3 separate regions of the Homo sapiens genome follow, and all the other regions are linked to region 2. The links are contacts of gene promoters, found by promoter capture Hi-C in human tissues and cell types (Jung and others, 2019). All regions are on one chromosome and are shown on one strand. Each heading gives the region's core, a stretch centred on a gene start or on the middle of the fragment in contact. The rest is flanking DNA. Distances are from core to core; before and after follow the strand shown.

Evidence for each region. Contacts are between HindIII fragments. The study calls those that stand out against the background at their distance.
Region 1: a contact is called between a fragment that was not itself captured here and the fragment with the promoter of KNOP1 in region 2, in 1 of the 25 tissues and cell types used here (H1 embryonic stem cells).
Region 3: a fragment that was not itself captured here is called in contact with the fragment with the promoter of KNOP1 in region 2 in 1 of the 25 tissues and cell types used here (aorta).

What each region holds. Positions count from the first base shown.
Region 1 is chr16:20,254,273-20,257,433 of GRCh38, reverse strand. No RefSeq gene overlaps it. Among named protein-coding and RNA genes, the nearest start is that of GP2, 72 kb to the left of the region's middle. The HindIII fragment of the contact is 4,828 bases long and covers 1-3,161 here.
Region 2 is chr16:19,716,837-19,719,778 of GRCh38, reverse strand. KNOP1 (lysine rich nucleolar protein 1) reads left to right here and starts at 1,552. Exons shown (of 5, transcript NM_001012991.3): 1 at 1,552-1,621. It overlaps IQCK (IQ motif containing K), which reads right to left and starts at 1,508. Exons shown (of 9, transcript NM_153208.3): 1 at 1,292-1,508. The coding sequence starts at 1,472. RefSeq lists an enhancer at 1,299-1,628. The HindIII fragment of the contact is 15,091 bases long and covers 1-2,942 here.
Region 3 is chr16:20,231,908-20,234,803 of GRCh38, reverse strand. LOC102723396 (a long non-coding RNA gene) reads left to right here and starts at 2,287. Exons shown (of 3, transcript XR_429682.3): 1 at 2,287-2,367. The HindIII fragment of the contact is 3,498 bases long and covers 1-2,896 here.

The DNA.
Region 1 (3,161 bases), core at 537-3,036, 540 kb before region 2:
GCACAGACCAATCAGATTTGCTCCTTGTACTGGGGGTGGGTCCAGCTTCTTGGAGACTCTTGGCTGGGTCAGGGAGCGGAAGCTGCTGAAAGCAGGGGTGGGCAAGGGAGGAGCGAGTGGATGCTGGGGTGGGGGTATGTCACACAGGGGATATGTCATCTGCTGGAAAACCAGGAGAGGATTTGTAGTAAGGAGTAGGGATGGTTCCTTCTGGGGTAGGGCAGTGCTGGCTGGCAAAGCTTCCTCCCTGTCTGTTGTAATCAGACTCAGTTAGTGGTGACTGTCTCCATAGGAAATGGTCACTGCAGTACCCTCTGAGGCCCCTAAGCCCAACTCCTATAGGAAGCCCCTCCAAACCACCAGGAGACTGCCTTTCCTGAACTTGAGGCTTAAGGCATCTCTTCTATGCAGTCCTGAATTTCTGCTCAGTGACTGTCCAACTGAAAACTTGGGCCGCGTAAGGGCGTATGACTGGGTCTTTTCTCGTCGTCTTTTTACCAGGAGGAGGCTTGTAGAAGTACTTAGCAGAGGCAAGCTGATAAGAGTGGGGAGTCACCTGTGGGGGTTGGCAGGTTGGCATTTTGCATACGTTTTCTCACTTCTTTCTCACAACAACTCCGTGAAGTAGGTTTTACCATTATCCCCATCTTACAGCTCCAGGCCCTTTCAATGATGCTGGAAATGATGCTGATTATGCTCGTCATCATGCCAACTGGCACTGTCGCAGACACTGTTATAAGCACTGACTCTTCAAGCATTAAATCATTTAATTCTCACAATCATATCATGGGATATTACAATTATGATGAGTATTATGAGGTATTATGATTCCCATTTTACAGATAAGAAAACTGAGCACCAGGGGAGTTAAATAAGGTCACATAGCTGGTAATGGGAGAAGGCAGGAGTCAAACTCAGGGATCCCTGATTTACTTCAAGGATCAACTAATTATTGCATATCAGCGGCTGACTGTTTTTGTAAATGAAGTTTATTGAAACACTGCCATGACCATTTGTTGACTTAACATCTATGGCTACTTTCATGCTGCATCAGCAGAGTTGAGTAGTTGGAATAGAGACCCTATGGCCCACAAAACCTAAAATATTTACTATCTGGACAATTACAGATAGAGTTTGCCAACCTCTGGTCTAGTTCCAGAGCTGAGGCTCTGAGAAAGCCAAATGTCCTCTCTTTCAGGATGGCTTCTCAAAGCCCAGGTGGAGAGATGGGAAACACTAAGTTCTCGGCCTCAGATGCATCTGTGCTGAAGTCCCTGCTCTGATATATCACCTCTCTGCAGCACCTTGAGTTCTTCATCTATAAACTTAGGGGTAACCATATCTTTCCCAGCGAGTTGTGTGTAGAGAGGATTAGATGAGATGTCATAAATAAAGTGCAAAGCAAACAGTAGGGACACAACAGTGCCCAGAAATCACCAATGTCACAGGCACCTCGCCTACATCCCAAAAGAAGAGAAATGTCAGCTCCATCCTCCACCGTCCAAGGAGAAATAACACCTGTTATTCCATTGAAGTGCAAAACAGTTCCCATCTATTTCACATTTGCAGGCCATCATCAGTGTGCTGTTTCAGCTTGCCAGATGCAAAGAGAATATGCCAATCTCTAGCACAGCCAGCTGCCTCCCTGGTGGGCAAGGAGGAGGAAGAAGGAAAAGGAAGCCTGGGAGAATAGGAATGGAATCCAGTACTTCCCTGGATAACTGGGGGCCTGCTTGCCTCTTTGGCATTCCTTAGTGTCCAAGTGGCCCCACCTCTGAGTTGGACAATGGGTCTTTTAGAACAGAGAGGTGGAGTTCTCAGAATTCCATGAGCTGATCGCTTCCACAGAATCCTTTAATAATGGAAGCCCTGCATAGGACAAGAAGACCTGGAATCTGCCTGCAAGAGTCATCCCCCATTCCTCTTGGGAACCACCAGGGTGAGACACAATTGTGGGTGCTTTATCAGACTGGCTTCCCTGAATAGCTTCCCAGGGGGGCACATTCAGGAGCCCAGCCACCACCAATAGGAATAGCTAATGTTTATTTAGCACTTACCATCTAACACTCACAATAACCCAATGAGAAAGGTACTATGATGTCCATTTTACAAGTGAGGACACTGAGGCACAGAAAGATAGAAGATGTAAGTCATTGGCAAGAGAGGAGGTGTGCTCTGGAGGAACACAAGCCCTGAGGTCAGACTGATACGGATATAAATCCATGTGACCTTGAAAAAAATTTCATTTCACTTAGCCTCAATTTCCCCATCTATAAAATGGGCACAATTTATGTCTATTTCATTCACCTATTCTGAGTATTTAGTGAAATAACACCTGTGAAGTCTAATATAATCATTTCAATTGGATTTAGAGTAATACTAGCAATTATTATTGCTTTTTGTTTAGATACCAGTTTTTTGTTTGTTTTTGTTGGTTTGTTTGCTTGTTTGCATTACTGGTACCTCTTTCCCTTCCTGGCAATAAATAGTTCTTTATTTTTTTTCCTTGAAGAACCATGGTTCTACCACTTTTAGATGGTTTGGGGGTGGAGGGAGGTATAAAGAGGAGAGGTTCACTTTTAGCTGACATCCACTTTCCCCAGATATGGCCAAGGACAATACTACATCTCCACGACATCCTCAAGTTTCAGATCTGGGCACGTAACCCATATTGGACCAATAAGTTTCAGACTTGAGGCTTTTGATTGAAATGCTGGGCAAGAAATGCTTTTCTTCTGATTGAGGTTGCTAAACTGAGAGATTATAAATTTGGATCTGCAGAGGCCCACCAGAATAAAGCAACACAGAAGAAAATCATATCCCAGAGAGGAAGGGAAGGATTAGATTTACATCTAAATGACATTATTTAGATCCCTGAATCTAGGCAGGCCTGAAGGGAAAACTTGGACCTTTCATTTACAGGGGCCAATAAATTCTCCCTTTCTGCTTCACCCTGTTTGAAAAGCGATTGTTTTATTTCCCAAAGAGTCCTGACTGATATATCTCCTCAAGTAAGCATCTCCAAAAGACAAATGAGGCCACAGTATTCAAGACTTCTCTTTGCAACTTTCCATCGAATGCCAATTCTCTTTTCTTTCTTCCTTTTCATTGCTTTATCACCTTTGACCGCCTCTTCTGTTTTGAGTCACTTTCTCTTGCTC
Region 2 (2,942 bases), core at 303-2,802:
TGCTTGAACCCGGGAGGCGGAGGTTGCAGTGAGCCCAGCCAGTGCCACTGCATTCCAGCCTGGGCGACAGAGCAACATGCCGTCTCAAAAAAAAAAAAAAAAAAAAAATTTGAGTCCAACAAGAAATTCAGTTACTCAATTGCACTAATCACATTTCAAATGCTAACTAACCACACTTTTTTTTTTTTGGGGATGGAGTCTCGCTCTGTCACCCAGGCTGGAGTGCAGTGGCGCAAACTCGGCTCACTGCAACGCCACCTCCCTGGTTCAAGCAATTCCCTTTCCTCAGCCTCCCAAGTAGCTGAGATTATAGGCGCACACCACCACGCCCAGATAATTTTTTTTTTGTATTTTCAGTAGAGACGGGGTTTCACCGCGCTGTTTCAGGCAGCTTAGGTAGTGATGGTGGCCACACGAATGAAAAATCTGAGTCCTTGACCTTGAGGAGCTTATGGTCTAGTGGAGGAAAAAGAAAACATCCCACCCAACATTATTCATTAAGAACTAGCGCTTACGTAGCTCCTTCTGTAAATCGAGCAGTTTGTGTTTTTTTTTCCCCAATAATCCTTTTGCCCTCCTAAAATCAGGCAGTTTGCTAAGCACTTTTTGTGACTATCTGGTTCCATCTTCTTAACACCATCGAAATAGGTGCCATTATTATGCCCACTTTGCAGACAGGGTCATAAGTTAAATAATTTGCCCAACCTAAGTAACAAATACTGAGTAGAGCCACAAAGGAAGATGTGCTCAACTCCGCCTGGGGAGGTTAAGGAAGGTTTGAAGCAAGAAGGGACTAAAACCCGTTTGTCCACACCATGGTTACTGAACGTGTGGGCCACCGACTACCTACGTTAGGATTACCTGGGGTGCTCTTTTAAAAAGTGCAGATTCCCTGCATCCCAATTTGAAGCTCTGTGGGCGGGGCCTGGGAACCTCCGTTTATAACAAGATCCCCACCCCGGCCCCCGCCCCAGCAATTCCTTTCGGTTCACTAACCGAGGTTTAAGAACCAATGGTCCACACCGCATGGTTCTCTTTATTCAGCTTTCCCTCGCCGTTCCCTTGCCTTTAACCTCACTACGGATCGCGATTGGAGTCCGCGCTGCGTAACCTCGGGCCAGCCTCTCCGAGCCTCAGTTTCCCCATGCGTAAAATGCGGAGCCCGGGCCCGCGGAGCCGCTGCCCGGCGGCCCCGCCCGTCAGCCGACAGGCGCACAGTGGGCGCTCCCCAAACGCGGCCCCCGTCCGGCCGCCCGGGTCCCGCCCCTCTCGGCCAGCCCAGGTTTCCTACCCTTGCAGATCTGCTCCCACAGATTCTTGCTTGACGGCTCGGTGACCTGCCACGACGAGACAGGCAGCTCGCGGGACGCGAGAGACACGGTGGGCACCGGCGTCCGGGTGAACGACGAGTCTGTAGAGCAGCTGGGCTTGAGGCGCACTATGTGGCTGGGGATTTGCCGCGGTGCCGCCATGGCCGCGGTTTCCACGGTAACCGCGTTCGCCGGAAGGCCGCGACCCGGAAGAAGCCGGAACCCGAGAGGGTGGGCCGGCGACTCGAAGTGGACTTCCGGGTCACGGCGGAGCTGGCTCTCACGTGGAGGCGGGGAAATTTCGCCCACCGGTGAGTGCCAGGGCGCGTTGCAGGCGGGCCGGCGCGGGGTGTGGAGATTGCACCAGAGGAAGTGCGCGGCGGGGAAGATGGGGAAATGCGGTCCACCCACATCCCTGAATCCGACCCCTCCAGTCGGTGTGCGCCCGCTCCGGCCTGAGGCCGCCGCCTCCAGAAAGTTTTCCCGCCTCAGAGCCGGCCCTGGGACCCCACGTAATCCCTCCCAGTCTGTTGATGCGGAGGCTTGGGCCCATGGGAGCCTTGGAGGTACGGATCTTACTTCCTGGCTCCCGCGCGTCCTGCTGGTGATCCTGCCGGGGGAGTGGGGTGTTGCTGCACAGGCTTTGGAGTCCTGTGGGCGGAATTCCAGTCTCCGTTTTCCACTTGCTGGCTTTGGAACCTAGGGCAAGTGAATTATTGTAGTCTCTGGAGCTTGCGAGGTCGGGTATTCACAAAGATCTTCACAAGGCTGTCCCTGGAATTTAAAAGCGGTTTTGGAGAAAGCGTTTGCGTTTGCAGGAGATGCACTGTAACGTTCTTTTCCTTTCTCCTTGAAAGAGTGAATGCATTTGGTCGCAGGGCTAAAGAGGAGGATGCTATACTTTTCTAAATGGCAAGAGATGGGGAGAGAAGGGGATTAAGAGTTGACCCGCAACCTCCCGGTGGATTCTTTGTTCTTACCAGATCTCTTGGCCACTCCCCTATTCTGAAGTCGTCTTGGCTCTCTTGACTGCTCCCCTATTCTGAAGTCGTCTTGGCTCTCTTGACTGCTCCCCTATTCTGAAGTCGTCTTGGCTCTCCTGACTACACTATTTCAAGGTTTGCACCTTCTTCTTTGCAAGCTCCTTTATCTCTGCCCACTTATTTAAATGCCAATACAATAGTCCCCCTCCCCCATTATCCGCGGGCAGTACGTTCCTAAACCCCCAGTGGATGCCTGAAACCACAGACAGTACCGAACCCTAAATATAACTGTTTTTTCTTGTGTATACTATCTATGAGAAAGTTTATAAATTAGGCACAGTAGGGCCGGGCGTGGTGGCTCATGCCTGTAATCCCAGCACTTTGGGAGGATGAGGCGGGCGGATCACCTGAGGCCAGTAGTTGGAGACCAGCCTGGCCAACATAGTAAAACCCCGTCCCTACTAAAAATACAAAAATTAGCCGGGCGTGGTGGTATGTGCCTGTAATCCCGGCTACTCGGGAGGCTGAGGCGTGAAAATTGCTTGAACCCGGGAGGTGGAGGTTGCAGTGAGCCGAGATGATGCCACTGCACTCCAGCCTGGGCAACAGAGCCAGACCTTGTCTCACAAAAAATTAGGTGCAGTAAACG
Region 3 (2,896 bases), core at 36-2,535, 520 kb before region 2:
TAATGTAGGAGTGCTGATTAGAAAGGAGGGAGGGTGTTGTTATGAATGCTTGGTTATCAGTATTCTTATGTGACTGCTATGCAAGAAAGTCCTATATCCTGTTTATCCAGCCTTGGAACTGTACTCTTTGAATATTATTACCATTACTACTATTAATAATAGCTACTCAATCCACCACTTACAATGTGCCAGATCCACTTTAAATCCAAATTAAAATTCAGTGCAAGCTTGAGTGCCTTCAGAGACCAAGCAAACTTGGAAAATGACTTAAGCAGACTGGGCTGGGGATCAATAGGGAGAAGTGGGGTCTGTGGTGAATGGCAGGTTGCATTCCTCATCTACAGGAGACAGCTGCCCCTCAGCTAAAGCCAAATATTGCTGTGAGAAGATGAGGGGATGGTGCTGCCATTTCTGATCTTTTTTCAGAAGTCAGAAATATGGATTTTAATGTGAAATTCCCAGAGTTTTAACTGCTGTCTGCCGACAGTCTGTGTGCTGCCTGTGTGCAAGCCTCCATCTCGCATCCTCTATCAAAAGCCTCTAGGGAAAACTGGTCCGTGAGCAGGGGCTGTGTTTACTTTGTTGATTGTGGGCCGGGGCGGGGGGAAGGAAAAATTGCATGGAGCCATTGTAGAAGCTGTAAGAGCCCATTTCTCATTTTTATTTAAAATTTCATGGAGGTAATTTCAGAGAACAATGAAATATCATCGGAAGTCTGGCTGGAGAGGAGAGACACGTGAAGGAGAATGATAGAATGACTGGCGGCACTAATAAGGAGGGCTAGGATAGACCAGCCAGAGTCATGAAGAAAATCATCCTCTTCCCCCAGTCCCCAGCTTGATGGGAAGGGGGCTACATGCCCCTGGAGATCTGCAAAGAGGGTGCCAGGCTGCCCAAGCCAGAAGCCCCAGATGTCTCCATGCTAGAGTGCAGTGGGGTGATTCTAGCTCACTGCAGCCTCAAATTTCTGGGCTCAAGTGAACCTCCCACCTTGGCATCCCTGGTAGCTAAGACAACACACGTGTACCACCCCTCTAGGCTGACATTTTTATTTTTATTTTTGTAGAGACAGGGGTCTCGCTATGTTGCCCAGGCTGGTCTCAAACGCCTGGGCACAAGCAATCCTTCTGCCTCAGCCTCCCAAAATTCTGGGATTACAGGCATGAGCCACCACACCTGGCCAAACCTGACTTCTATGTGACAGGGTGAAGAAGGCTTATGTTCTTCTCATATCAATTTAATTATCATAACTCAGGGAAGTCTTATGGCCAAGTTCCAACATCTTGATATTCCCTCCCCATAATACCCTAAACTTCCCCCGTGTAACATTCATCACACATATCTCTTATCTCTTTACGTCAGAACCACTTTCCTTCATGAATATGAGTGCAGGAATTTCATCTGTCTTGTTCACCACTGTCTCCTAGCACCCACAGTGCTTGGCACATAGTAGGGGCTCGATAAATATTGACTTGTGAAGGAACAAGTGAATGAAGAGTCCTTTGACCTTAGGCATGGGTTATTTAATCACAGAATGCCTCGCCTGTGAAACAGGGGTAACAGTAGTACCTCTAAGAATTGCTATCTTCTTTGTGCTACGACCCACAGAAAATTTGTACTCTGTATTTCATCTGTTCTCCACAATATGCATAAGAAGTTGGGAGTATTTTTTATCCCAACATTATATAGTTGGGCTTAGAGTAGTTAAATGACTTGCCCAAGGTCACACAGCCTGGACGTGACACAACGGAGAGATTCCAACCCAGGTCTGTCTGAGTCTTTATCTCCTTCCCCACAGGAGTTTAGAGAGGGAGAAAAGCCATTCTATCAGACCGGTGGAAATCAAAGTAAGCTTCATAAAGGAGATGCATTTATCCTGGGTTTTAAGGATGGATGAGAATATGGGAGGCAGAGGAAGCAGAGAAAGCATTCTAGGTGGAAGGAATAACTCAGGCAAAAGCTCAGAAATAGCAGGAAACGGCAGATTGATTCAAGGAATGGCTTGTGAATCATTTAAGATAAAGGGGTGGGGAGGTCCTGAGAAAGGCTGAATTCATATCATAAAAATGAGTTCACTCATCCTCTCAACAGTTATGAACTGAGTGCCTGCCAGGTGAGGAAGACATCGACCAAAGCATCCTCATGTCCTGTCCTCAGGAAGCATACTGTCCAGTGCTCTGCCACACTGACTCTTTGCTGCAAGGACCACATGAAGAAGTAGGAAAGAAATTACTTTGAAAAGCTCAACTGTGCTATTTCAATACTCTCCTCTGTTCTGCTCTATCTGTTAGACTCTTCATAGTAATTAAGTAAAAGCTCCAGTTCAAATTGACATGGCTTTTACAGAAGGAGAATTCATTGACTCAGGTAAGAGAAAAATTGGAGAGCTGTCTGGCCTTGTTGGTTCCAGAATTTTTCCAAGTCATCAAGATAGGACAAACAACAACTCTCCAGCCCTCCTGTGTGTGTAGTTTCACTCTCCCACAGACTGTTGTCTTTCAACAGCCCCAGATCTCACACCTTCTCAGCTCCACATCACACTGAGATAAAAGCTTCTCTTCCCCAACAGTTGAACTTGAGTTCAGTTTTCATTGGCCAGAAAGTGTCCGTGCACTCATCTTAGAACCAATCCCTACACCCACAAGAATAGGATAAGGATAGGATAAGCTAAATGACTTAAACTAATCAGGACCCTCCCTTCTCTGGCCTGGCCAAGCAAAAATATGTAAGCAAAGAGTTAAAGAAAAGTGGTTCTTCAAATGCAATTCCAGAAATAATTTTGCTAGGAAAACAGTAAGTTCTGAAAAAAAAAATTACAGCAGTCCACTCTTACCAACGTGAGCTTTGTGATCTTAAGACAACTCACATTATTAAAAATCACATTATAATTACATAC